Regions from separate parts of the Homo sapiens genome. Here all the other regions are linked to region 5. The links are contacts of gene promoters, found by promoter capture Hi-C in blood cells and fetal thymus (Javierre and others, 2016). All regions are on one chromosome and are shown on one strand. The core of a region is centred on a gene start or on the middle of the fragment in contact, and the rest is flanking DNA. Distances in the headings are between cores, read along the strand shown.

What was found. The method cuts DNA at HindIII sites, captures the fragments that hold promoters and counts their contacts. A CHiCAGO score of 5 or more calls a contact.
Region 1: a fragment that was not itself captured here is called in contact with the fragment with the promoter of ZFAT in region 5 in 1 of 17 cell types (fetal thymus); the score reaches 6.9 in fetal thymus.
Region 2: a fragment that was not itself captured here is called in contact with the fragment with the promoter of ZFAT in region 5 in 1 of 17 cell types (naive CD8 T cells); the score reaches 5.2 in naive CD8 T cells.
Region 3: a fragment that was not itself captured here is called in contact with the fragment with the promoter of ZFAT in region 5 in 3 of 17 cell types (erythroblasts, monocytes and naive B cells); the score reaches 7.7 in erythroblasts.
Region 4: a contact is called between a fragment that was not itself captured here and the fragment with the promoter of ZFAT in region 5, in 1 of 17 cell types (fetal thymus). The highest score is 7.1, in fetal thymus.
Region 6: a contact is called between a fragment that was not itself captured here and the fragment with the promoter of ZFAT in region 5, in 3 of 17 cell types (fetal thymus, non-activated CD4 T cells and naive CD4 T cells). The highest score is 9.3, in fetal thymus.
Region 7: a fragment that was not itself captured here is called in contact with the fragment with the promoter of ZFAT in region 5 in 1 of 17 cell types (fetal thymus); the score reaches 6.6 in fetal thymus.

The regions. Positions count from the first base shown.
Region 1 is chr8:133,476,015-133,479,346 of GRCh38, forward strand. It overlaps ST3GAL1 (ST3 beta-galactoside alpha-2,3-sialyltransferase 1), which reads right to left. Exons shown (of 10, transcript NM_173344.3): 4 at 264-586; 5 at 1-60. The coding sequence starts at 10. Among named protein-coding and RNA genes, the nearest start is that of ST3GAL1-DT, 93 kb to the right of the region's middle. The HindIII fragment of the contact is 1,982 bases long and covers 330-2,311 here.
Region 2 is chr8:133,279,847-133,283,562 of GRCh38, forward strand. It overlaps NDRG1 (N-myc downstream regulated 1), which reads right to left. Exons shown (of 16, transcript NM_006096.4): 3 at 386-421. Among named protein-coding and RNA genes, the nearest start is that of NDRG1, 16 kb to the right of the region's middle. The HindIII fragment of the contact is 2,493 bases long and covers 1,005-3,497 here.
Region 3 is chr8:133,508,271-133,511,693 of GRCh38, forward strand. All of the region lies in intron 2 of ST3GAL1 (ST3 beta-galactoside alpha-2,3-sialyltransferase 1), which reads right to left. Among named protein-coding and RNA genes, the nearest start is that of ST3GAL1-DT, 61 kb to the right of the region's middle. The HindIII fragment of the contact is 1,575 bases long and covers 532-2,106 here.
Region 4 is chr8:133,448,184-133,451,535 of GRCh38, forward strand. No RefSeq gene overlaps it. Among named protein-coding and RNA genes, the nearest start is that of ST3GAL1-DT, 120 kb to the right of the region's middle. RefSeq lists silencers at 1,107-1,265, 1,437-1,486. The HindIII fragment of the contact is 4,849 bases long and covers 1-3,352 here.
Region 5 is chr8:134,711,480-134,714,748 of GRCh38, forward strand. It overlaps ZFAT (zinc finger and AT-hook domain containing), which reads right to left and starts at 1,552. Exons shown (of 16, transcript NM_020863.4): 1 at 1,366-1,552. The coding sequence starts at 1,384. RefSeq lists an enhancer at 1,384-1,563. The HindIII fragment of the contact is 8,105 bases long and covers 835-3,269 here.
Region 6 is chr8:132,756,394-132,759,659 of GRCh38, forward strand. It overlaps TMEM71 (transmembrane protein 71), which reads right to left. Exons shown (of 10, transcript NM_001382403.1): 2 at 2,447-2,522; 3 at 841-901. The coding sequence starts at 2,486. Among named protein-coding and RNA genes, the nearest start is that of TMEM71, 2.6 kb to the right of the region's middle. The HindIII fragment of the contact is 4,357 bases long and covers 1-3,266 here.
Region 7 is chr8:133,208,533-133,212,340 of GRCh38, forward strand. The region is part of intron 1 of CCN4 (cellular communication network factor 4); the gene reads left to right. LOC102723635 (a long non-coding RNA gene) reads right to left here. Exons shown (of 3, transcript XR_428405.3): 2 at 3,188-3,332; 3 at 2,471-3,007. Among named protein-coding and RNA genes, the nearest start is that of CCN4, 19 kb to the left of the region's middle. RefSeq lists an enhancer at 3,244-3,808. The HindIII fragment of the contact is 1,389 bases long and covers 1,068-2,456 here.

The sequences.
Region 1 (3,332 bases), core at 71-2,570, 1.2 Mb before region 5:
GGGTCACCATCTTCGCAGTCCTGATGGTGGCCTCCCACGATGGGTAGCAGGAACTCCCTCCTAAGAGAGGAGAAAAATGGAAGAAAAATCCCAGAGGTGGAGGCTCAATCAAAAGGGATGGCAGGAATTCCAAGGGAGGACACAAGGGCCGCTAAGCTCGACTTCACTCCTGCTGGGGGATGACCCCCAACTGTGTCCCAGACACGGCTGTGTGGTAGACCAACGCCATTCGTGGCATGTTGGCTTTGCTTGCATATATTTACCTTTTCAGAAAATAAAGTAGCCTATTCTTCTGCAATCCTTAAAGAGCTGATAATGTCTCTCGATCAAGCTTTAACCAGTGATTTCCTTTCACATCCAAAGAAGATAAGGGGTCATTAATCTCTGTGACAGTCCAGGGTCCCTCAGGAGCGAGGACCTCGAAGGAAGGGTGTTGGTATAGCGGGGAGGGAAACTGTCTCTGCCGTCCTCCTCCAACTGTGGTTTCTGACGATCCTTAATTAGGGCTTTTTCTTTCCCATCCTGTCGCCAGGGACATGGTGGGTACACAACCAGCTTGATGAAGGCACAGAAGGTTGTCTGTCATCTGCAAAGAAAAGGAGGAAGAAAACAGCGTGAGATTCTGTGATCCTGCTATAAAAAATGTTTCTCTCCACATCTCCACCAGGACGTATTCCGTGGTCTTCCTTCTGGTGTCATGCCAACCTGGCAGGTGGCTCTGGATGGTTTATCTACCTTTGTGAGCCTGAGTGCGTGCATACAATGGATGTTATCATCTCTTTGCAAGGTTATTATGGGATGCAGAAGGTGTCCCCTCCATGTTTCCAACAAGAACCTAGCACATTGACACACTCAACAAACATTTGTCAAAGAGCTCGTGATGCATGTAGGTACAATATACACAGGAATTGTTAAATGCATGTTATTTGCCTTTCTCTCTACTTCATTCTCTTCCAGATTTTGGATTTCAGCAACAAGCACAACAACAATGGTATGCTTAGAGAGTGGCCCAGGGTTCCTTTTACCTGGGCATTCAAGCTCTGCCAATTGGCCTCAGTTCCATAAAAAGGGGCTTTAGATGGTCCAGGTTCAAGTTCTGATTTCCCAGCTGTGGAGCCTTGGGAAAGTTATTTGACCTTCCTGACCCTCAGTTTCTTCTTCTGCAAAGTGGGATACTAACACCCCTACTTATAGAATGGTTATGAAGATAAGATAAAATGATGTATGCTGGGCTTCTGGTATCTATTAGGCCATTGCTGAACTTTAATTTTTCTTCTTCAACATGTGAATGAATCAATATTCTCTGATGATCCACTAAGAGCTGAGAGGATGAGATATTCATGCATACGTATCTCTTCAGATAATCCTCAGAATATACTGTCAGCTAGATATTAGTTTCCCTTTTTGTCTTGGAAGAAACTGAGACTCAAAGTGCTTAGATGACTTGCCTAAGGAAAGGAAGGAGCAGGATCCGAGTCCAAATCCACAGTCCTCTGATTCCTTACATCGGGAGGGGTTGGGGGACCAGGAACAGGGGGTTGGGGGGCTCTACCCTGGAGCAGACACCTGTCTTGTTAACTGGTCTTCAGATTACTACGGCTGGAGGGATATAGAGCAAGGGGGGAGTATTCTTTTGAAGAAGGCAAACAGGTACCTCTCAAATGCCCATCGGAGACCCCTCTGGCTCTCACCGACACCTTGGGATTTCTGTATGGTACAACTGTGGTTGCACGTCTGCCCTGGAGCGTGGTCTTTTTGGTCTTTGCTTGGAATGCTGAAGAATGGAAGAAATCTGATCGATTCCTCCCCATTCTCAAGGTGTAGATTGTCAATAAGCAGGGTATATTTTTTTCCAGGAAAATTAGAGTTGAAAGGAGATTGATCACCTTTTGGTAGAAAGGGGGACAGCTCCAAAACCATATTAAATCCACAGTGCCCTTCTGAAGACATCCAGGGCCCAAGATGCATAGGGTGCAACCCTCTACAGCTTCCAGAACTAGAAGCCCAACGTATGGAGGACAAGGTCTGAGCTCTGCAGCTCAGTTGGCAACGTCATTTTTATCCGGTCTCTGCTCCAGTTTTCACTTTTCATGACAACCTAGATTTTGTTTATAACCTAGTGGTGTCCACAGGTATCCCATCCAATTCTCTCCCCACCTGCCCCCATCAAGGAGCAGCTCTGTAATTTAAGTAAGAATAACTTCTGCATCATCACAGATAGGCTCACAATTCACTTGACTGGCAGAGGGTTCCCACCTCTTACCCCAGTAATTGATCCAGGGATGGGCATGTGCCTTAATTCATCCAGCCAAGCTTCTGTAGGGAGGGAAGAAACTTTCTTTTGCTCTGGCTGGCTTGTTGTTGACATGTGGAACATCCTGCTGGCTATTTTGCTAGCGTGTGTAGAAGAGACTAGAGCTGAACAACCCGAACAAATGGTGCTAAATCCCTGATCCTGCTCAACCTGCAGCCCCACCCTCACCTTGACTTTTCAGTTACATGAGGGAATAAATCCCCTTTATGGGGTAAAGTAGGTTATTTGTAACTTGAAGCAATGTGACTGACCCAGAGGTCACAGTTGCTCCTACCTCCGTGTCCCTGCTCAGGCTGTCCCCACTGTCCAGAAAACCACCCCACCCTGCTTTGCCGATGGCTCTTACTCATTCTCTAGGGCTCAGCTGGTGCTGACTCCTGGAGGAAGCCCTGCCCTCTCCTGGGGTGAGTTAGGGGCCTCTCCTGGCTCCCTAGGGTCCTGGCTGCACTCTGTCTGTGCTCTTCACACATATGTCTCCTCCCTGGACTGGGAGCAATGTGAGGATGGAAACTCAGCCTCACTATGGCAGTGACCCTGTCACCCGTGCACACACTCAATGCTCAGTGGAGGCTTGGGTCATGAAGAAACCCAGAAATGAATGAAGGGAAACAAAACGGCCAACAGTCCAGAGGGAGAACTGAGAAAGAAAGCACAGACTCTGAGTCACATTTCCATTCTCAGCAGCCTGTCCCACACTACTCACTGCGTGACCATGAACAAGTCACCTAGCCCTTCCGAACCATCCCTTCAATGGGAAAAACGGATTGATAACACAAATTCTGCTCATTTCTCGGGGCCGTCAGCCCATCAAGGTTGTCCATTCATCTCATTCATTGACTGCATATTTGCTGGTCCTTGCGTTCTCCAGGCCCTGGACAAGGTGGCTGGGGTGCATCGTAAAAGGATCTAAGGTAGGCGCCTCCCAGGCATCAATAGGGCCCCAGACCCTGTGGAGCAAAGGAGGCCTGTATGGCTGGATCAGACACAGTGTGGAGGAGAGGAGTGGGTGGGGGGTGAG
Region 2 (3,716 bases), core at 1,001-3,500, 1.4 Mb before region 5:
AAGGCTGGTTTCAGTTTCCCAAGTGGAGCCAAGAACATCAAGCTTTTGCTTCCGTTCCCTCCCCTCACAGGGTCCCAAGCCAGCCCAGCATCACACCATTTTCCCCACACACGCCCCACCGTTCTGGCCAGCTCTTTGGGACTGAAACAGGCGGTGTCTCTGTCCTGCTTTCGTGGGAAGTGACTGGTTCCTGATTCTTTGGCCAGCACTCAAGTCAGCTTCTGTCTGGGAGCAGCAGCTGAGGGTGAGGACCTAGCTGAGACCACTGCCTTCTCTCCCCTTGCCCGCAATGTTTGCACAATGATCTACTTAAACCAATGGAAAGAAAAAGGAAAAAGAGAAGACGGGATGAGGAAGGGGAAGGAAAGCCACATCCTCTACTTGCCTGGACATCAAACTCTTGCAGGAGGCCGGTGATGGTCTGTGAAAAGACAAAAAAAATTGTCAATTTCATCTGTTTTCTCTGTAAGAGAAATAATATTGGGACATATGGGCCTTTCTATGACCTGAATCTGTACCTACACTTCCTCCTTTGTGGGGTCTCCTTAATTCCTCACAAAGGCAGGCTTTCCTTTTCTCTTTTTTTTTTTTTTTTGAGACGGAGTCTTGCTCTGTCGCCCAGGTTAGAGTACAGTGGTGTGATCGCAGCTCACTGCAAGCTCCGCCTCCCAGGGTCACGCCATTCTCCTGCCTCAGCCTCCTGAGTAGCTGGGACTACAGGTGCCCGCCACCACGCCCAGTTATTTTTATTTTTATTTTTTGTATTTTTAGTAGAGACGGGATTTCACCATGTTAGCCAGGATGGTCTCGATTTCCTGACCTCATGATCCACCTGCCTCGGCCTCCCAAAGTGCTGGGGATTACAGGTGTGAGCCACTGTGCCCAGCCGAGACTTTCCTTTTCATCTCAAAATAGAAGTCCAGCAGAAAAGCAGACACATTAACTGGACTCCTTTCTGACAATAGCCTTGATAGATAAAAAGCTGAAGGTCTAAGCTGATCACAAGCTTGAGAGATACAGAAATGTGATATCTGACTATTAACTGGTCTCCCCGGCTCCACCCATGTGCTATACTTTTAAAACTCAAACCTGACCACATCATGGTCCTCCTTACATTTTTTCCATGGCTGCTGTCATCTGGACCTGGATTAAATTTCAGTCTCTTGTGAGTAGAAGAGGCAGTGGAGACCTCTAAGCATTTCCCTCAATCTAAAAATTCTGAGTTTCAGGCTGGGTGCTGTGGCTCACGCCTGTAATCTCAGCACTTTGGGAGGCTGAGGCAGGCGGGATCACCTGAGGTCAGGAGTTCAAGACCAGCTTGACCAGCATGGAGAAACCCCGTCTCTACTAAAAATACAAAATTAGCCAGGCATGATGGCGCATGCCTGTAATCCCAGCTACTCGGGAGGCTAAGGCAGGAGAATTCCTTGAACCCAGGAGACAGAGGTTGCAGTGAGCCTAGATCACACCATGGCACTCCAGCCTGGGCAACAAGAGTGAAACTCCGTCTCAAAAAAAAAAAAAAAAAATCTGAGTTTCAGCCCAAATTCTATCTTTTACCAGAGCTGTCCATGGCAGGACAGGCCCAGGAAGACAGAGAAAAGTCTTGTGTCCCCTCTGGCCTGGTGAAAGTGTGACTCGGAGGACCAACTGGAGTCTTGGCTGGCCAACATTTCTAAGAGATGTTGCTGGCATGTTTTCCTACTGACCCAGAGATGGAGTCCCAACACTGTGAAAACTGAGCCCCAGCCTCACCCACCACAAACCCCCAGAAAACAAGACGGCTCAGCAGAGCGAAATGCAAAAGCGATGAGGGGAACAGGATGATGGAATGGAGCTCCCATTAGATGGCAGGGATTGGAAGACTAGATGACAACACAGGCCCTCGTGCTGGGGATTCAAATAGCCCCACATCCCCTGAGCTGTGGGCAAGAACATCAGGGACTTTGGGTAAATTCAAGTGGAAACAAACGTGGCTGGCACCTATACCATTGCCCTGTGTGTGTATATGTGCATGTGAGTGTGTACTGGTGGGAAAGAATGGGGAAAGCCATTCTGTACAGCAAACACCAACCTTCAAAACGTCATCAGAGTATAGTGGCAATCTAGATTGAGGACAGACACAAGGAAGAACTTCCCAATAGTCAAGCCTAACTCTAAATACTTTGCTGAGTCAATCTAAGGAATTGAAAGAAATTTATTTCCGTCTAAACCTTGAAAGAAAGGGTAAATATTCACTGAGAGATGCACTGGCATGTAACCCTGAATGGGCAAGCTCTTAGACATGTGTTTCATACATAAAATGTTCTAAGGATTCCAGTAGGCTGCCCGAAATAAATAAAAAATGTTGTTTTAAATGCATTTACCCTTGGACCCAGCGATGCCACTTCTGAGAACTTTTTTCTAGGGCTGTACCTGCACATGTATGTAATGACACACATGAAAGATACAAGGGTGCAAATTTCTTGCAGTGCTGTCTGTAATAGCAAAAGGCTGGAAAGACACATGTGTTCATATACTGGGCACTGGGCAAATACATGTAGTGGAATACTATGTACCTAAAAAGAGAAAAGCAAGTGGATTATGGACTGATGTTGAAAAGATCTCCCAGAAATGTCAAGTGAATAAAGCAAAGTGTGGGATACTATTTTCACAGGGTTTTTTAAAAGGGAGAAATAAGAATATGGTGATATGTATTTGTTCTATCTAGAAGTTTCTGTTTGACTATTTCAGAAGACTATGTCACAGACCCAGAGTTTAGAGGACACAGATTTAGAAATTGCATAGTATACAGTAGGGGTTGGCACACTGCAATCCGCCTCACCACATTTTAAATTTTTGTTGGAACACATTAAGTACATTCACTTGTATACTGTCTATGGTTGCTTTCTTGCTATAATGGCAAAGTTGAGCAGTTGCAACAGAGGTCATGTGGCCTTCAATGCCTAAGATATTTACTATTTGACCCTTTGCAGAAAAGGTTTGCAGACCTTAGTGTGGAATGATAAGCAAGCATCTGTAGCCTCCCCAGGCTTGGTTTCTAACTCTAGTTGTACCAGCTATCTGGATGAACTTGACCAATCCCCTTCCTGTCTAGGACCAGTTTGTTTTTATTTTTAAATCTGCAAAAGGGGAAAAGAGATGGTTGCCTCACACATTTGTAAAGAAAAGTCTATGAAATTATGAACCTAAAACAGAGCAGCCACATGTAGAGTCATAAGGAAATTAAATGAACAGTCTATTCACCAACGTCCGCTGGCCTGGGTTTGATTCCATGTCCCACACTTTGTAACTATGCAAAGAAGACAAATTAACCTCCCTAAGACCCAACTTCCTCCTCTACAAAATGAGTACGATCACAGAACCTGGGACCTGCATGAACCAAAGTTGAAATACGGTCGGCGGAGAAGCAGGCATGCAGGATGTGGTTAGTGCATGGTAATTATCACTTTTAAAAGCATTTAGTTGGCTTTAGACTAACTTCACTTTTGGACCAAAGCTTCCACATTTTTAAAAAGACATATCAGAGGCAGTTATGAGGCTAAGTGAGAATTGGGATGTAAACATGCTTTGAAGCTACGGTGTCAACTGTGCAAATGTAAAGGTTCATTCATCTTCAGAACAATCAGCCCAGGCTGGGCCCTGCCAGCCCAGCCTATAGACAGGGGCTTCTGTTTCCAACAGGAAGAGCTCTGTTGACAGAAGAGGTTTGCCCA
Region 3 (3,423 bases), core at 69-2,568, 1.2 Mb before region 5:
GTCTTTCCTTTCTGCTGCCTATAATCTTCTGAGGCTCCCAAATGTCCCTGAGTCCAGGCCAAATTTTCAGGTTTGTGGGACAGCCTCATGGTACAGTTTGTGCTCTGGGGTTGGCCGTGGGATCAGGCTGAAGGTTGACTCTAGCTGGGAGCACATCCCTGCTCAGCAGCTCCCCTGCGTAGCCCTGTGTCCCCCACCCTTTCCCTGGAACACTTCCTCTGCAATCTACGTGCACGGAGTCCCAGACTCAGGTTCTACAGGGAGGAAACTGAGATCCCTGTTTGAGGCTGATCTCTGCAGCGACTGTAAGGAAGAGACAATCTCAGAAGCAGGGCACTCGCTCAAATTCAGAGACCTTTCTCAAGAGCTGGGAGGATCCTCTATAACCACCGAGTCCAGACTCTTGGCTTTTGTGAGGAACCAGAGCCATTGGTCATTTAGTAAAGACTCGTTGGGTCCCAAGAATGTGCCAGGCTCTCTTTGGGATACTGGAGATACAATGAGGAGTGAAATATATAGTCCCTCTCTGAAAGCTTGTGCATCATACAAAACAGTGCAGATAATGGTAAATGCTTTTGCACAAAACCCCATAAGACTTAGAGGCAAGCAGAAATGACGCAAGTATGAAACTCAAGCTGGCTGCCCGCTGTGCTTTGAGTAATGAAGTCCCTTGTCTCTGATCCAGGAAGCTCCTGTCTTCTGCCAGCATCTGTCAGCAGGCTAATTTGTCAGCTTGCAAATAGGGAGACATCTCAGGCTTGTCACAGTTCTTTACAGTTACTAGCCTCATGTGGCTATTTCCAATTAAAATTAAATTTTAAGTTTAAAATGCAGTTCCTCAGATGCACTCATTAATTAACTAATTAGTGTTCCTAACTAAATTAGCTAATAAATTAAAATAATTAGCTAATTAACTAAAACTGAATGAAATTTAAAGCACAGTTCCTCAGTGTCACCAGCCAAATTTCAAGTGCTTAGTAGCCTCATGCAGTGAGCGGCTACTGAACAGGACAGTACAGATATTGAATATTTCCATCACTGGGAAAGTTCTATCGGAGAACACTGGTTGTGCAGTTGAGGCACAGGGTCTAGGGCCAGACAGACGTGGGTTCCACCCTTGTGTTTCACTTGACGGGAGACTCTGAGTTAGCTATGGAGCCTCTCTAAGGTTCATCTGTAAAATGAGAATAGGACTTCACAAGCCTCCTGTGAGGATCACAGAACATCACTGCAAATGACAGGGCGTGGGGCACCAGGGGGACCATGAGACTGAGCTCCTGAGTGAGCCGCTTGCAAACACCATGTGAGGAGAGCGGAGCTCAGGCGGAGGGACATGCCAGTGGGAGATCACAGGGTGGAAAGTAGCTGGTGGTATTCAGCCGGTGTGGGACAGGTGTGCTGAGTAAAAGGGATAATTTTACAGGACGAGGTCAGTGAGGGAAGCAGAGCTGATCATGTCCCTCTGGAGGGCAGTGAATGTAACCCAGCAAAAATTAGTGAAGGAGGACCAGGCACCGTGGCTAACGCCTGTAATCCCAGTCCTTTGGGAGGCCAAGGCGGGTGGATCAACTGAGGTCTGGAGTTCGAGACCAGCCTGGCCAAAATGGTGACACCCCATCTCTACTAAAAATACAAAAAATCAGCTGGGCTTGGTGGCACACGCCTGTATTCCCAGCTACTCGGGTGGCTGAGGCAGGAGAATTGCTTGAACCCAGAAGGCAGAGGTTGCAGTGAGCCAAGATCACACCATTGCACTCCAGCCTGGGCAACAAGAGTGAAACTCTGTCTCAAAAAAAAAAAAAAAAAAAATAGCAATGGAGAATGGCTCTTCACACTTCTCTCTGGAAACTTCCCCTGGTTTCCCGCTGTCCCTACTGCATCACACACCTGTTTTCAGGGGACTTCCCAGGTTAAGCCTTTCAAAAAATAGATTTCAACAACTGAAGATGAATCCTGGGGAATAAGCCAATTAGTGGCCTTTTGAACACCAGCTCCACTTCCCAAAGTGCTTCTCTGGGCACAATGTGCAGGCAACTATCAGATACGAGGCCAATAAATATACCATCACCCCTTCACCTCACATCATGTGAAACACAGGCTACTGGAAGCTTGGTGAATACCTGCTGCACATCGTTAGAGAGGAACTGAGGCAGAGTGAGCTTTCAGAGATAGTCTGCACCTATCTGAAGAGAGCGGGTCCACTATGTACATGCCGGGCAATTCTAAACCTGTGCTAAAGCATTTGGACCCTCAGACTTCTCCTCTGTAAAATGGGAATGCAAGTAAAAATGAGAGTGGATTGAAAATTTCAGTTTAAAATGCAGTTTTTCAATTGCATTAATTAACTAATTAGTGCCACTAATTAATTAGCTAATTAATTAAAATAATTAGCTAATAATTAAAATGGAATAAAATTTAAAGCACCGTTCCTCAGTTGCACCAGCCCAATTTCAAGTGGATTTACAAACTCCATGCACTCTGAGCAGTGTCTGGTTTTCTCATCATTACTGACAGCGTCATGTTGCCTGGACCCAGTGGTCCTCCTGTACCCCATGGTGGCCACCATAAGCTGAGAACAGCAGAGACTCGGAGCAAACTCCATCACAGGGGAAGGACAGGGAATGAAGCAGGTGACTGCGGCGGCCAATCTTTGGCTCTTTTTTCCTAAGTCCTCACACTGTATGATTCACGCAAATAACCAGTGACCTTTTCAAATAGGATTTTAAATGATAAACAGAAGTGCTTGTAGCCATAGCAGATAGAGGGCAAAGAAATGAAAACCTCGTCATTTTCCTTCTTTAAATCTCCAGCATTATTATCTAGTGCCTGAATTAAATCCTTGTGATACACTTGCACATTTTGGCAGTAAATACTCATCTTAGGGGTTTTAAAAGATCAACAAACACATTTTAAAAATTCTTGTCCAGCCAGAGCTTGCTAAGGACAGGAAAGCAAGGTTATCTGGGCTTGGGGACTTTAATTAACAGTACTTATGGGGAGGTAGATAGGCATTAAATCTGTGGTTCTTGCAAAAGTAGCAAAAGTTAGTGTAATGGAATTGTTCCAGCACATCTAATAACAGAAGGGTGGTTGTATTTATTGAACACCTAGTATGTGACTGGCCCTTGGCCTACAATGGCTAACATTTCCCAGCTATGTAGATGTGCACTGTTTCAGACACTTGATGTGGATTAAGCCATTCAATCTTCCAAACAATCTATTAGTAGGTGACTTATCATCTCTCCATATTTACACAAGCACAAAGAGGTGAAGTCACTTGTTCCAGGGCACACAGCTAGTAGGCAGCAAAGTCAGTCACCCAAACTTAGGTCACCAGGCTCCGGAGTGATGCCAACGTGCCACACCAACAGATACTACCTAAGTTGTCTCACTGCACCTTCACTAGAGACCTTTCGAGTCACA
Region 4 (3,352 bases), core at 538-3,037, 1.3 Mb before region 5:
CAGCCATCACAGAGTCTGCAGTAGGAACAGGCTTTTGCAGAAGGGGCCAGAGGCCACCAGGAGCACACCCAGCTCCTATCCAGCACACCAGCCTTTCAGACAGCAGGAGGCAGGGATTGAGACTGGGGTAAACAGCCTTGATCCCAGCACATCTGTCCCCTGGAGTCCCTGCCGAGGGCCTGCCCTGGTCTGTCCACCCCACTGAGCCTGCAGCACTCCTGTCCCCTGGAGTCCCTGCCGAGGGTCTGCCTTGGTCTGTCCCACTGAGCCTGCAGAATGGAGCACTCGGCCTGTGTTCGCTCAGCACTGACAAGGGCAGCACCAGGAGCCTCTCACCAGTCGGCTCCAAGTCCAGGCCTGTGATATCGAGGAGAGGCATGAGGGAGCTGGTTAGTGCCCCTCCACTGTTCCGGAGGCTCCAAGGCACCTTCCAGTTTTCTTACAGCTTTGATTGGACAATGTAGCTGGTTTTGGCTCCAGAGCTTGATTGAAAGCGATGGGTATCGACTCCATGGGGAGAGTTAGGAGCCAACAAGCCACCTTTATCTCCTTCTCCCCTTGTGCAGTGACCTTGAAAGGCACATGCTGAAGTTGAAGTTGGCAATGTCCCAAGATGAAAACAGCTGGGTAGCCTGAGCCGCCACATGCAGGGCTCACGTAGGACACTGCAATTTCCATCAGACTTTGACCCGGCAGTGAAGAAACCTTTGTTGTTCCATCTTAGGTTGTTGGGATTGTGGAGTTTGTCAGTATTGTAGCAGCAGCCTCTTCTGTCCTGACTGAGACAGAATCAGACCTGGTTTTTAACCCTGGTTGATCAGTTATGAACTGTGGCTACAGACACATAACTAATAGTCTCTGTGCCTCAGATCTTCCATGAGGATACCACCCCCATGTCATTCATGGGGGTTGTTGTGAGAATTAAAGGAGAAAATGCGTGTGAAATGCTTGGCACACAGAAAGGACTCAGAAAAGTCTGCCTGCCGTCTTTCCTTAATATATACTATGTCACCTTATACCCATTTTATAGATTAAGAAACTGAGGTTCAAAGAAGTCAGGTTTTCCCCATTGGTCACACAGCTAAGAAATCACTGCAGAGTCAAGGATGAAGGGTGGGAGAGGGAGGCCAAGTAGAAACACCAAGGTGTGGAGGTCTGGGCAGGCAGGAGCCGGTGGTGCCACGTGGCCCTGTGAAGCCGTGGGCAGCTGGTCAGACACTCACCCTTGCTTGGGGCTTTGACATTTTCCAACTGGACACAGACTTCTTCTCAATCTATTTTGTTAGCTGGATGACAGAGATATAATCTCCTCATCTGGAAGGTGTTGTCCTTGTTACTATCTAAGATCAAGTTCTTTTAAGTTCTGGCCTTACACGTGGGTGTGTGGCTTTTCCCTTGAGGTTTTCAGCTTGTGTCTGGTTCCCAACCAAACCCCATGTTGAATCTGGTGGAAGGTGGGTCCGTTGCGCCCTCTGGTGGCCACCATCACCAGGCGCTCTTGGCCAAGGTCCTAATGAATAAACCTGGCCGTTGGGCCGGACCAGCTCTGTCGCCGTGAGCCAGCCATGGGCACTCATCTTCAAAGTGCTTTTCTCTGGAGCAACACCGTCCCCTGTCCCCACACCCCTGGGGAGTATGGCGCACTTGCAATCTTTACCCGGGACTCAGGAACCCCAGCCCTTGCGATTTAAGTTCTGGCTACATCCCTAACCCCCTGGTAAGTCACTTAACCTCCTTGAGTGAAGCTCAGTTTCCTCTTTAAATTCCCCTCTCGAGAGACCAATGCCTCTTGGCAGGATTGTTGCAGGATTAAACGAGCTTAATGGAGGTAAAGCACTCAGCCCCCGTTGCCAGCGTGTGAAAAAGAACCAGCCGCGGTCATTAAAAGCTCCTTTATTTCATGGGTGTTGCAGCTGTCTGGCTGCCCGCCCGTCCCCCCACTAACTCTCACACTCTGGTGGCAGAGACCTTCTCTTGCCCATCTCTGTATCTCTAGTCCCCATGGCCCTCAGTGCGTATTTGCCAAGTGAAATATATACATAAAGCACATTCGCTTATCACAGTCCTGTGAGGCAGACACCCCCGGAATCACTGTTCCCGGTTTGCAGAGAGGGTCTATCCGTGGACCCCGGTCTTTGACTGCTGGGGCCTGTGACTGTCCATGGGTGTCCATGACCCAGTCATGGCGCCCTCTAACGCATCCTCTCTAACTTCAACCCGGCCCTCCACCCTAGCCACCAGCTGCCTGTACTCACAGTCATTTTCTCCGACGGTTCACAGTCCATGGGAAAACGTTCCTCCATTGTTCTCTCCTCCTGCCTTCGCCTCAGCTCAGCATTTTATCTCCCCAACTCTAGGGGAAAAGGAAGCTATCAGACGGCAATGACCTCAGCTTCGTGCCGCTAAAGCTGTCTGCCCCTGCCTGGATCCCCACCCCGGCCCCTCACCATCCTCTTGTGATGGAGGCGGGGGTCCCTCCAAGCCCCTTCCCTCTCGAGGGCCCTGCTCCACACTCCTCCTTCTCTCTGCTGCATCTTCCTCTCTCTACTGGCTCCTTCTGGACAGCATTTAAGTCTGCTGCAGTCTCTGCTGCTAGACAAAGCATCCTTCCTCAAATATGTGACCTTCTCCTTTAACCCTGCACCCACCCCTCATGGCCCTTCCCTGTTTCTCTCCTGGTACACTGCTGGAGTGCCCTACTCACTCCTTATACATGGGTCTTTGTAGCTATTACTCTATTCCAGCCTAGTTTCCACCTCCATCCCAAAGAGAGCTTGCTCTTACCCAGGCCATACATGGTGCCCCTTCACCTCTCTGGGGACAGGCGTCACCAGGGCAAGGCCTCAGTCTCCTTGAAGTGACCTTGCTATAGCCTCAGAGGCACCACGAAGCCAGAGACCTGTGGCCTCCCTGGCTGCTTCTTCTAACCTCCTTTCCTGTATTTTGCTCCTTGGACCATCTCATTCAACTCCCTGCAGGCCACATGCAGACCCAGGGCTTCGTGATCTATAGCCTGATGAGGCCCAGATTTCTGTCTCCAAGTGGGTGGGGTCTTAGGGCCTCAATCCCATTACCCTCAGTATGGGCTCTGAGCTAATGGAGGGATTGATTCAGGAACCACCTGCAGCTGTGTTCTGAGTCAAGCTGAATTGGGGCATGTGGCTTAGAATTGCAGCAAAATGTCCCTGCTCGTTATCTCATCCAGTTGAACTGACTTTCTATACCCAAACACAACCTCCTCTTTGCGGCAGCCCCATCAGCCTGGAAGGTGAGCCACATGGAGCCACGTGGGGGCCCAGAAAACAGGAAGCCTCTGCTTTTCACAGCTGAGCTGAGAGGTGACTGAGCTGAG
Region 5 (3,269 bases), core at 302-2,801:
ACAGCTAATCAGCGCACCTGTGGTCACAGCTACTTGGCAGGCTGAGGCGGGAGGTTTACCTGAGGGCGGGAGGCAGAGGTTGCAGTGACCCGAGATTGCACCATTGCACCCCGGCCTGAGTGATAGTGCGGGACTCTGTCCCAAAAAATTAAAAAAATTAAATTAAAAAAAAGCACGCCTGATATAGTTCGGGTCTCCTGACCCAATATTCGGCTCTGGGCCCACTCTGTCACTCCAGGACACATTCTCCCACATCTAGCACCGCAGCAGGTGGAGGCAGGACTACGACTGGGACTGCTCTTTACCCCTGCCTGGCGTGCAGAGGGGATCCTTGCAAAGCTGTTATTTGAACTAAAGTCAGGAAAGGTGTCCCTGGGGGTTAGAGGTAGGACACGCTACTTCCTTCAGCATGGGGACACACACTACAGATGTTTCAGTAGATGAACTGGTAGGCTCGGAAGATAAAGCTGGTGAGAGGCAGCTGTGCGGGGCATCTCCAAAAGGTCACTTGGACTCCAGCAAAAAAAGCCAGACTGATGGGCAGGCGTGATCAGTTAGCGCGTTCGTTCTTTCATTCACTAAGTATATAGTGAACACTTACATGAGCCAAGCCCTATTCTAAGAAGATGGAGGTACAAGTCAGGCGAGCACGCAGGAGTTTGGATTTTAGCCCAAGTTGGAGGAAGTTAATTTTTAAAGCCCCAGCTCTGTCGTTTTTAAACTGTGTAAAGTTGACCTCTCTGAACTTCTGTTCCTCATAATAAATGACCTACAAATTAGAGTTCTCAAGAGAGCTGAGCAGCAAAACGTGTTAAGTCAGTGCCCAAATGTGGAAGCTTGTGGTAATTACAGGTGAAGGACCCCAAGCTCAAGGTTAAATGACTTGCACCGGGTGTCAAGTGGAAGATCTGTCACTCTATTAGGTCCAGCCGGCGGCCGGGAAGCCTGCAGGAGGTACTCATTTCGCCAAGGAGGAATCCGAGGCCAGGCAAGAAGGAAGCCCCGCCAAGGTCCAGTCAAAGAGCTGGCATCGCCGGGATTCGAACCTCGCGCCCACTGCGTTCCGTCGCTGGCCCGCGCCCCAACGCCACCCATTGCCGTGGAAACGGCCGGGCGCATGCTCTCCCACTCGCTCCCGCCTTGCTTTTTTTTTTTTTTTGCGGCGGGATACCCCAGCGACTGAACGTGAGCCGCAGAACGCAACTACGTTCGCTCTCCTCCCCAGACCCGGATCCCTCCGCGGCCGGCGGCCGGCGGCCGGCGGCCGGCGCACTGCTTCCCGACTCGACGCTCGAAACGGCTTTCCGCGCGCCGCGCCGCGCCCCACCCCCACCCCGTCTCACCCCAACCCCCAGCCCGGCTCACCTGCCGCCCGCGTCTCCATGGCAACGCCCCACCGCGGAGGAAAAAAAAGCCTCGGGCTCTTCCGGGCCCCCTCCCGTGCCGACCGAGGGGGCGGGGCGCCCTGCTGACGCTTCGCTTTTTATTTTTATTTTTTTAAGAAAAGAGCCGGCGAGGTTATGGCGAATCTGCGGCATCCAACATGGCGGATGGAGTCTTCGCCCTCCTCCCCACGGGGCGCAGACGCCTGCGTAGCGGACGTCCGCTTCGGGTGACCCTCCCCCGGCGCCGAGCGCGGCCCGGCAGGGCCGAGCTAACGCGCATGCTCGCAGTCGGAGGCCGTGCTTTTTATCCCACTTCACGGATTCCGCTGCGCCGCGTTTTGAGCCACGCCCAGGGAGGGGCCCTCGGGAGGTCCGGAGCGCGGATCTCGGGGTCAGGAGTCTGGCGGTTGTGCCAGGCCTCTGCTAGCGCGACCCTAGACCCGCGGCATGTGGGGCCGCCGAGCTGGGCGTGCAAGGAGAGTTCTGGGTGCGCTTCGTGTCCCAGCTCTACCTCTCACTACCTAACTTGGGGCAGCGAATTAACTTTTCTTGCTCTCAGTTTACTGATGTGTCCATCGGGGTGCTCCCAACCTGCATCCCGCTCAAAGCTGCGGCGTTTCCCGAAGCGTGGGGTGCTTTCCTTTGGGCCACCCGGCTGGGTTTTAGGGGCTACAGAGCACTGAGCGGCCTACGATCACACGTGACAAGGCGACTTCCTCCTCTCTCGTCTCTTTTTGTCCCACAACAAGTCTGCACTGGATGTGCGCGCCTCCAACACCCGCTCATTCATTTCTCTGCTTGTGGCACAGCCTTCGGCAGGCAGCTGAGTCTGGTGGAAATTTAATGACTTTGTTTTTGGTTTTGATGTTAAGGTGTTTAGCTCCAACACTGTAGTCCTCGGCTCAAATGATATCTTCCAGCCCCTAACCCTCACCCCCCGAAACCCATCTAAAGTAACCCTCCAAGACACTTCATATTTTCTACGTAGCATCCATTCCTATCTGTCATTATCTCCCTCCCTTACCTCTGTCAATGGTCACCCCGTTAGCCTCAGAAACAAACTGAGCCTGACAGTTATTTATTTCATGAGTAATGAGTTGATGTGGTCCATGTTCTAAGGTCATTTTCTGTTCATGACAAATAACGTTTTTCACTTACAGTAGTCATATAAAGTTTTTAAATTGTTCGTTTACATTTTCAAAAATCAGTCAACTTAAAATGGTGTACATGCTGCAAAGACATGCCCCCCCCCCCCCAAAAAAAAAAAGTGTAAAAGCAGACTTCAGGAGACTGAAGTTTGGGAAACTGATTTGTGTTCATGGTTCCCCTGAAATGCTAGTCTTTGCCTGTTCTTCTTTTCCTGGAATAACCCTCTTTGGTTGCTGCTCAACATGAAATTCTCGGACAGCCCTGAAGTTCACACTTCATGTTCCCACAGCTCTGGTCTCACTGGCCTAGCTCCATCCCCCACTTCTCTGTTTGCACAGCGTTCATCCTCACTAGACTGAGCTTCCTGAGCAGCCCTTATAGGTCCTTTTCATCTTGTTTTCTCAGCGCCTGTTGCATAGTCATATTACTGAATGAACACTTCGTTCTGGGGTCACTTATTTTTTAGGAGGAAAACTCCCTTGGGCATTGAGCTTCAGGATGACTCATCTGATTTCTCAGGAGACTGCCCGCCTGCTCCTTAACCCTGTTCTTGGGAAATACGGAACCATGAAAAGACCCTAAAGTTGTCCAGTCTGTTAAATATATGCTCACAGATATAGCCTCCCCCTTCTTCATTTCATCCTCGCAATCTGGAAGGTTAAGTTGGGCAATATGATTATTGTCCTTTTCCAGATGAGAAAATGGAATGTTCAGAGTGGTCAAATGGCTTTCTGA
Region 6 (3,266 bases), core at 245-2,744, 2.0 Mb before region 5:
TGACACTAACATATATATTATATATATATATATATATATATATATATATTCATTATTCTATTAGGCAAGTTTTTATTTAGTATGTACATGGCACCAAAAAGAAATAACCTTTCAAAACTAGATGATAGCTAAAATAATAATTTCAAACCAATAATACAACAAAGCAAGACATACAGGAAAATAATAATAATAATATAATAATAATTATTATTATTTTGAGACTCGCTCTGTTGCCCAAGCTGGAGTGCAGTGGTGTAGTCTTGGCTCACTGCAACCTCTGCCTCCCAGGTTCAAGTGATTCTCCCACCTCAGCCTCCCGAGTAGCTGAGATTACAGGCACATACCATCATGCCCGGCTAATTTTTGTATTTTTAGTAGAGACAAGGTTTCACCATGTTTTACCCAGGCTGGACTCAAACTCCTGACCTCAGGTGATCCACCCACTTCGGCCTCCGAAAGTACTGGGGTTACAGGGGTGAGCCACCATGCCCAGCGAAGAATGATTTTTTTTTTAGACAAGTCTCTCTCTGTCGCCCAGGTTGGAGGGCAGTGGTGGGATCTCGGCTCACCGCAAGCTCCGCCTCCTGGATTCACGTCATTCTCCCGCCTCAGGCTCTCAAGTAGCTGGGACTGCAGGGGCCCGCCACCACGCAGCGCTGATTTTTTTTTTTTTTTTGTATTTTTAGTGGAGACGGGGTTTCACCGTGTTAGCCAGGATGGTCTCCATCTCCTGACCTCGTGATCCGCCTGCCTCGGCCTCCCAAAGTGCTGGGATTACAGGCATGAGCCACCACGCCCGGCCAGAATGATTATTTTTTTAAAAGAAGCCCCATAGTATACCTTGGGAAAATGCACGTGGGAGACAGCTCTCCAGCATATTCTCTTTCCAACCTGGAAGAACCTGCATAAACAAATGAGAGAGAAGTAGAATGTATCATACCTGATCAACAGTTACATATGTTGATACATGTATCAATATGTATAATTGCAAACAGTGGAGGCATGTAAGAAGATGGGAATAGCTGATGTTCCAGCTTCAGCAGGAAGACTCCAGTAGTGCAGGTACCCTTATCACCAGGGATCTACCGGAAGCAAGACATAAACTAGAGGCTTCTATCTTCTGTTCCTTCATCCACATAACACTCTAGAAGTTCCGGGCGCAGTGTCTCACTCCTGTAATCTCAGAATTTGGGAGACCGAGGCGGGCGGATCACAAGGTCAGGAGATCTAAACCATCCTGGCTAACACGGTGACACCCCGTCTTTACTAAAATATACAAAAAATTAGCAGGGCGTGGTGGTGGGCGCCTGCAGTCCCAGCTACTGGGGAGGCTGAGGCAGGAGAATGGCGTGAACCTGGGAGGCAGAGCTTGCAGTGAGCTGAGATCGCTCCACTGCACTCCAGCCTGGGCGACAGAGCAAGATTCTGTCTCAAAAAAAAAAAAAAAAAAAAAATTTCTTAGTGCAGAATGAGGCAATAATAAATCATTAGCATCAAACTGAGCTCATGTAAGGATGGGAAAAAACGTCTTGTGTGAAGCAGGAGAAAACCCAAATCAATTACCCAATGTGTTGGTTATTGCAGCTTACTCAGTAATCTGAGGAATTCAATCATTGTTCTAGACTCTCCCTCATTAGTGCATATTAAGACACTTCTACTGTAAAATAATGAGCAAAAGACATTAGTGGGGAAGAAATAAAGTTTTGTTTTGTTTTATATAACATTTTTCCAAAGTATAAAGACTGTGAGTATTCTTAATTATAGAAACATCATCCATTCATTCGTTCCATTTTAACCAAAGGCGTGGCAACAGACTTTACTTGGAGAAAGTTGGAGTTGATTAATATTCTAAACTCTAAAGCAGAATTTTATCGTGTGCAGAGATGGTGTCAATAGTCCTAACAGACAAGCTAGTGAAATTTGATTCCATTATGGACAATTAGTATCTAGGACAAAGAAAGGAATTTAGACTTTCAGATTGGGCTGGTTGATTTGTAGGGAGAAAACTGTGGGTGTGTGAGGGAGAGTTAGAAGTGGGGTTTTGGGAGAAAATAACAAGAGGAAGGAAGAAACTTGAAACCACTACCGTTTTAACAGCGCTCTTATTTTCTGCAAGTAGCTATCAAAATCATTCAGCATTTTTTATATACAAACAGTTTTGCATCTTAATAGTAGCTGATAAACAATCTCCTTTCACATTTATGCACAGGCATCTAAAAAAAAACGGTGATTTTTTTTTTTCTACTAGAAGGAAAAATACCACATTTCTTTCAAGGAAAAAAATGAAGTTAAAATCATTGCCAAAGTGAACACTGGCATTTAAGAAGCACAAGCTACTGACAGATGGTTAATGGTCTGAGTATCAGCAAAATCAAAGCAAGGAAATTGCTAAAAGGAGTCTAATCGTTCAAAAGATAATTGCGTATCACAGTTCTTCTACATTTACTTGCTACTGGTGTTGACATCAGTTGAGATATTCGGTACATCTTGGGAAGGCCGCTTGCTCAAACTTCACAGATTCTCTGCAAAAGATGTTAAAAAAAAGGTGGACTATATATTAAAAATAGAAAAATTATGCCAAAACAGATGGCATCTACTAATTGCACTAGTCAGATTTGTTTACTGAAATAATACAGAGATACAGAATTGAAGGTAGGAGACCAGACTGAAGACACAACCCCTCTAAAGTTGTGTCTGCCTCTATGACTGAACATTTTCCATTGCCTCACTCAGTGCATCTCAATAACATTTTTCTGTAAATAAGAACCACACTTTATTTGGAAAATCTAGACTTAAAAAGGTTGATTTGTAATCCAAAGAAAATAATGAAAGTGAGGTATTTGATTAAGAAATCTTAATAAAATGACTGGTTCTAACAGTCATTTAGCCCCAAAACAAACTTACGTGTATTTTAATCATCTGACACAAGTCAACTTCATTATCAAGTTTCAAACAGTGCTTGGAGATTGGTGTCTGTCTTTTTCCCAACAACTTGAACCATTGACAGGTAGTCACAGAGAGTGATTTTAATAGTTTTTATCAGCCTGGACATTCCTAAACAGCATAAGTAATGTTGCACTAAAGATAGCATACCATTGGGAAGATTTTAGAACTTAGTTCCCATGAAGACATGATTTAATTTCTCAATTACTAATTAAAAACATATCAAAGTATGTAAATTATGCAAACTTTGATCATTTACTGTTCATCAAATAGAACCAACTTCTGTTGACTATGAAACTTTGTATATAGTATCACTATCCTAA
Region 7 (3,808 bases), core at 512-3,011, 1.5 Mb before region 5:
GTGCCTTGAACCCATCCTCATCCGTCCTAGCCTTCGCCTCCTCCTGCCTCCACCCTGCACCCTACACCAGGCTCTGCAGGCCCCAGGCCCTGGCACATGTTGCCAGCTCAGTGCCTGTGCACTTGAGGGTCCTTGCGCATTGGGTACCCTCTCCTGCTTCCTCACTGATCTATTCCCACCCCCTCTTCAAAACCCGTTCCCAGTGCCTCCTGTCTTGGGAAGCCCTCTTCAGCCCCAGCACACACACAGCCCAGCCACTCCCCTGTCATCCCACAGGCAGGTCTGCTTGGCTCTCACACTGCATCCCCAGCACCTAGTGCTGCACCTGGCACAAAATAAAAGCTGACTACAGGTGTGTTGAATAAATAAATGAAAGGGAGAATGAATAAATGAGTGGATGCCATTGTTATAGCATTGATTGCACTGAATTGCAATCATTATTTATGTGTCTGTTGGCCTCACTAGGTGGGGAGCCAGTCAGGGGCTCTGTCTTAGGCACCTTCGTCTCCTCCCAGCCTGGCACAAATCCTGTGCATAGTAGGGATTCAATAATCCTCGGTCCCTAGAATGACTCAGTCATCGTGCACATCCCCAGCTAAACTGTCAGTGCTGGAGGGCGGAAACCGCCCTTGCGCCAGTCATCTGCTTTCCCTCGTGCTCACACAGAGAGGTGAGGATTGATCGATTATCACGAGTCAGGACTCACTTGTGGCCTGCAGACCCAAATCCTAGGTAAGCGTCTATGCTGGACATACCCTAGGTATGTGTCAGTGCTGGACAAGGCAGCTGGCACTCAGAGGCTCACACACCAAACCCAGCAGTCCTCATGCCCTGGGGTCCAGAGGGTTTTCCCCTGCACAGATCTTGTCCAGCACCTTCTCCTGAGTCTGGGAGATTTTCTACCACTAGATGGTGCCAATTGCAAAGGCTGGCTCAGCCGACTGCCCACAGCCCTTCCCTCCTCTGCCCAGGGATGCCATAAATGGTTCCCCTGTCCAAGGGAGGACTTCTCTGCAGCTTCCCCTCACCAGCTGTGTGCCCTGGCACCTCCAGGCACTTAGAAAGGAAGCTTCCTTCTGGGCATCTTTAACTTGGGATGGAGACAGGAGGATGGATAGTGATCCCAGGAGTGGGATACCCACCCGGTTCCAACCCATTCCAGCTCAGCTCAAAGTGTCCAGATCCCCAACTCTGTTCTGGGCACAGTGGGGTCAGGGAGGACACACAACCAAATGGGTGTAAGAGGAGACAGGCTTCTGTGTGCCATGTGACATGTGCCAGGCCCTACCTAGTGCTGCCACATCCACAATGCCCCTTCACCCTTCCAACTGCCCCCAAAGGGAGGTGAGTGTGATTGTGCCCATATCACAGATGGGAATGCTGAGGCTCAGAAAGATGAAGATGCTGTTCCAAGGCCACACGGAAAGAACGTACGTCGGACTGTCTCAGGTTGCATGTTCTTTTCTTGACACTCAAACTTAGGGCCCAGAGGAGAGGTTCCAGTACATGATGCCTTAAATATCATAGATATCCAAGCCTTTTTAGCCGACAATCCCCCATCCATCCATTTCACCAGTCAACACATATGAAGCCCTACTGTGTGCTCTGTGCTGTGTTTCAGGCGCACAGAGAGATGCAAGGCCCGGGCCCTGCCCTTTCCAAGTTCACATTCCAGTGAGCGAGGTAAGGGCAGGGAAGCCTTCCTGGAGGAGAGGGCATCTTTATTTCCTCTGCCAAGAGCACGTCCTGAGTGTGGTGGCTCTGAGAGATGGTCTGCTAGTGCTCATGAGGCTCTGAGGCTTCTAGAATCATGGCCTAACAAGGAAATGTCTCTCCCCAAAGTCAAAAAGAGGGGTGTGTGTGTGTGTGTGTGTGTGTGTGTGTGTGTGTTTACTGATTCGGATATGTAGGGTTTTCTTGCATCCTGTTGTGTTTTTGAGGAAATATGAACAAGGGCAGGCTAACTAGTGCCTCCTCGGTGAACCACCCAGAACTGCCAACCCCAAGAGCTCTCTGTTCCCTACCAGCAAGGCCTTCCAAGGCCACATCGCCCACAGAGCCTTCCTCCCTGCAGGGGGCTGCAGGCAAGATTTTTTTTGGCCATTCTGGTGTCTGTCTGGGCCATAACAGAGAAGTCACCCATATGTCCCCAGTGAAGACTGGCAATGTGCAGGCACTCTGTGGGGGCCTGCCCCATCCTGCCCTCACCCCATGGAGTTCACCGGCATTAACCTCCAAACACACACAAATGTCTAATTTCTGAGCCTGCCTAGTGGCTTAAGGGAAAGCCAGACACACGCAGGTCAGCGAGTCAGGAGAGTCCGCCCAGAGAAAGGGGCCCCAGGTGAAAAAGATAGGAAGGGCCTCTCAGCCACAGGGAACTGCATCGCAGCGGCCTTGAGGTAGGGAAAGGGTGGATTTGACCAAGTTCTGAAATCAAGCCTATGGGAGATGAAAGCTTCAAGTCGGGTTTTGTCTGTTGACTTGCAAGGGCTTTATTTATTGCATCAATATTTACTACATTTATTGTGCGCCAGGTTCAGAGCCTAGTCAGACTAATTCAGAAATTCATCTGAACCACTTTCCTCATCCCTGGTCCTTCAAGGTGCAAGAGTGGACCCCACTCTCCTGGGCAGAGCAGTTACTGCCCTGGTGTTCAGAGAGCTTCCATGCCTCCTTGGAATGCCCAGCACTTTGCGTAGTAAATCCCTCGAGTTGCAGTAAATCCCTCGAGTTGTAGTAAATCACCTCTAATACTTGCCTCTCCCATAAGCTGTGGGTTCCCCAATCATAGGGACTTTTAACGCTTATCTTCAAATATCTAAAACTTAAGAGAGACTATGAGCTAACTCTGCAAATGTCTGTTGAGTGAATGAAAGAACCCAGAAGAGGCAAAAGTAGAAGCTGTTGTAATGAGAGTTAGGAGATTAATTTGCATCTTGGCCTTGCTGTGAACTGTGTCATCCTGGGAGTGTCCATCTGTCTCTTCGGGTCTTGCCTTCCTCCCCTGTAAAGGAGGAAAGAATTTGTCTGAGTAGCTCAGCACCGGAGCCTGGTGTTCCGAGTGGAAAGCAGATCTGTGATCCCACAAAGCAGGCTCCTCTGCTTCCAGATGGAGGGAGCAGCCCAGAGCCCAGCCAGCCCCCTGTCCCAGCCCCACAGAAGCCCTGGATTCTCCTCTGCTTACTTCAGAACTCAGCCGTCAAGGACGAGAAGTGCTGGGCAGGATGATCCATGGCTTGCCCAGGAGAGGGAGGACTGACTCAAAGCCTGGCTCCCGTCCCCGCTCCTGTGTCCTCAGGCGATTCTCTTCCTCTTGCAGGCCCAGGTCTCTTTCGAGATAGAGCAAAGGGCACAGATGGGATTCAGGGGGGCAACCAGATGGGACAGCAGGTGACTGGGTGCTGGAGATACAGGCAGCTTGAAGCTCCTGCACTCAGACACCCAGGCATCTCCATCTGCCGCTCCTCAGGCCTGGGCAGCTCTTAGGGCCTTGGTTTCCCTTCCCAGCTGGCCTCTTGTGTCCATCATATTTGCCAAAATAAAGATGAAGCTGTTGACTGGGGGATGGGAATGGGGATGCTGGGGAGGAGTGCGGGTTGGTAGAGTGGAGTGTGTATGTGTTGGGTGGGGGGTCTCATTGCCCTGACAGCAAAATAAAAGGGCTCCTCCATGTAGGGCTTGTGCTGGCAAAGGAAGCGCCAACTCACTCCCCAAGGGCTGGGGCCCATGTAGCTGCCAGGAGCTATAAAGTTGAATACCTGCCGCTGCACCACGCCAGCCCTTTCCGGATGCTCAGAGGGGAAAA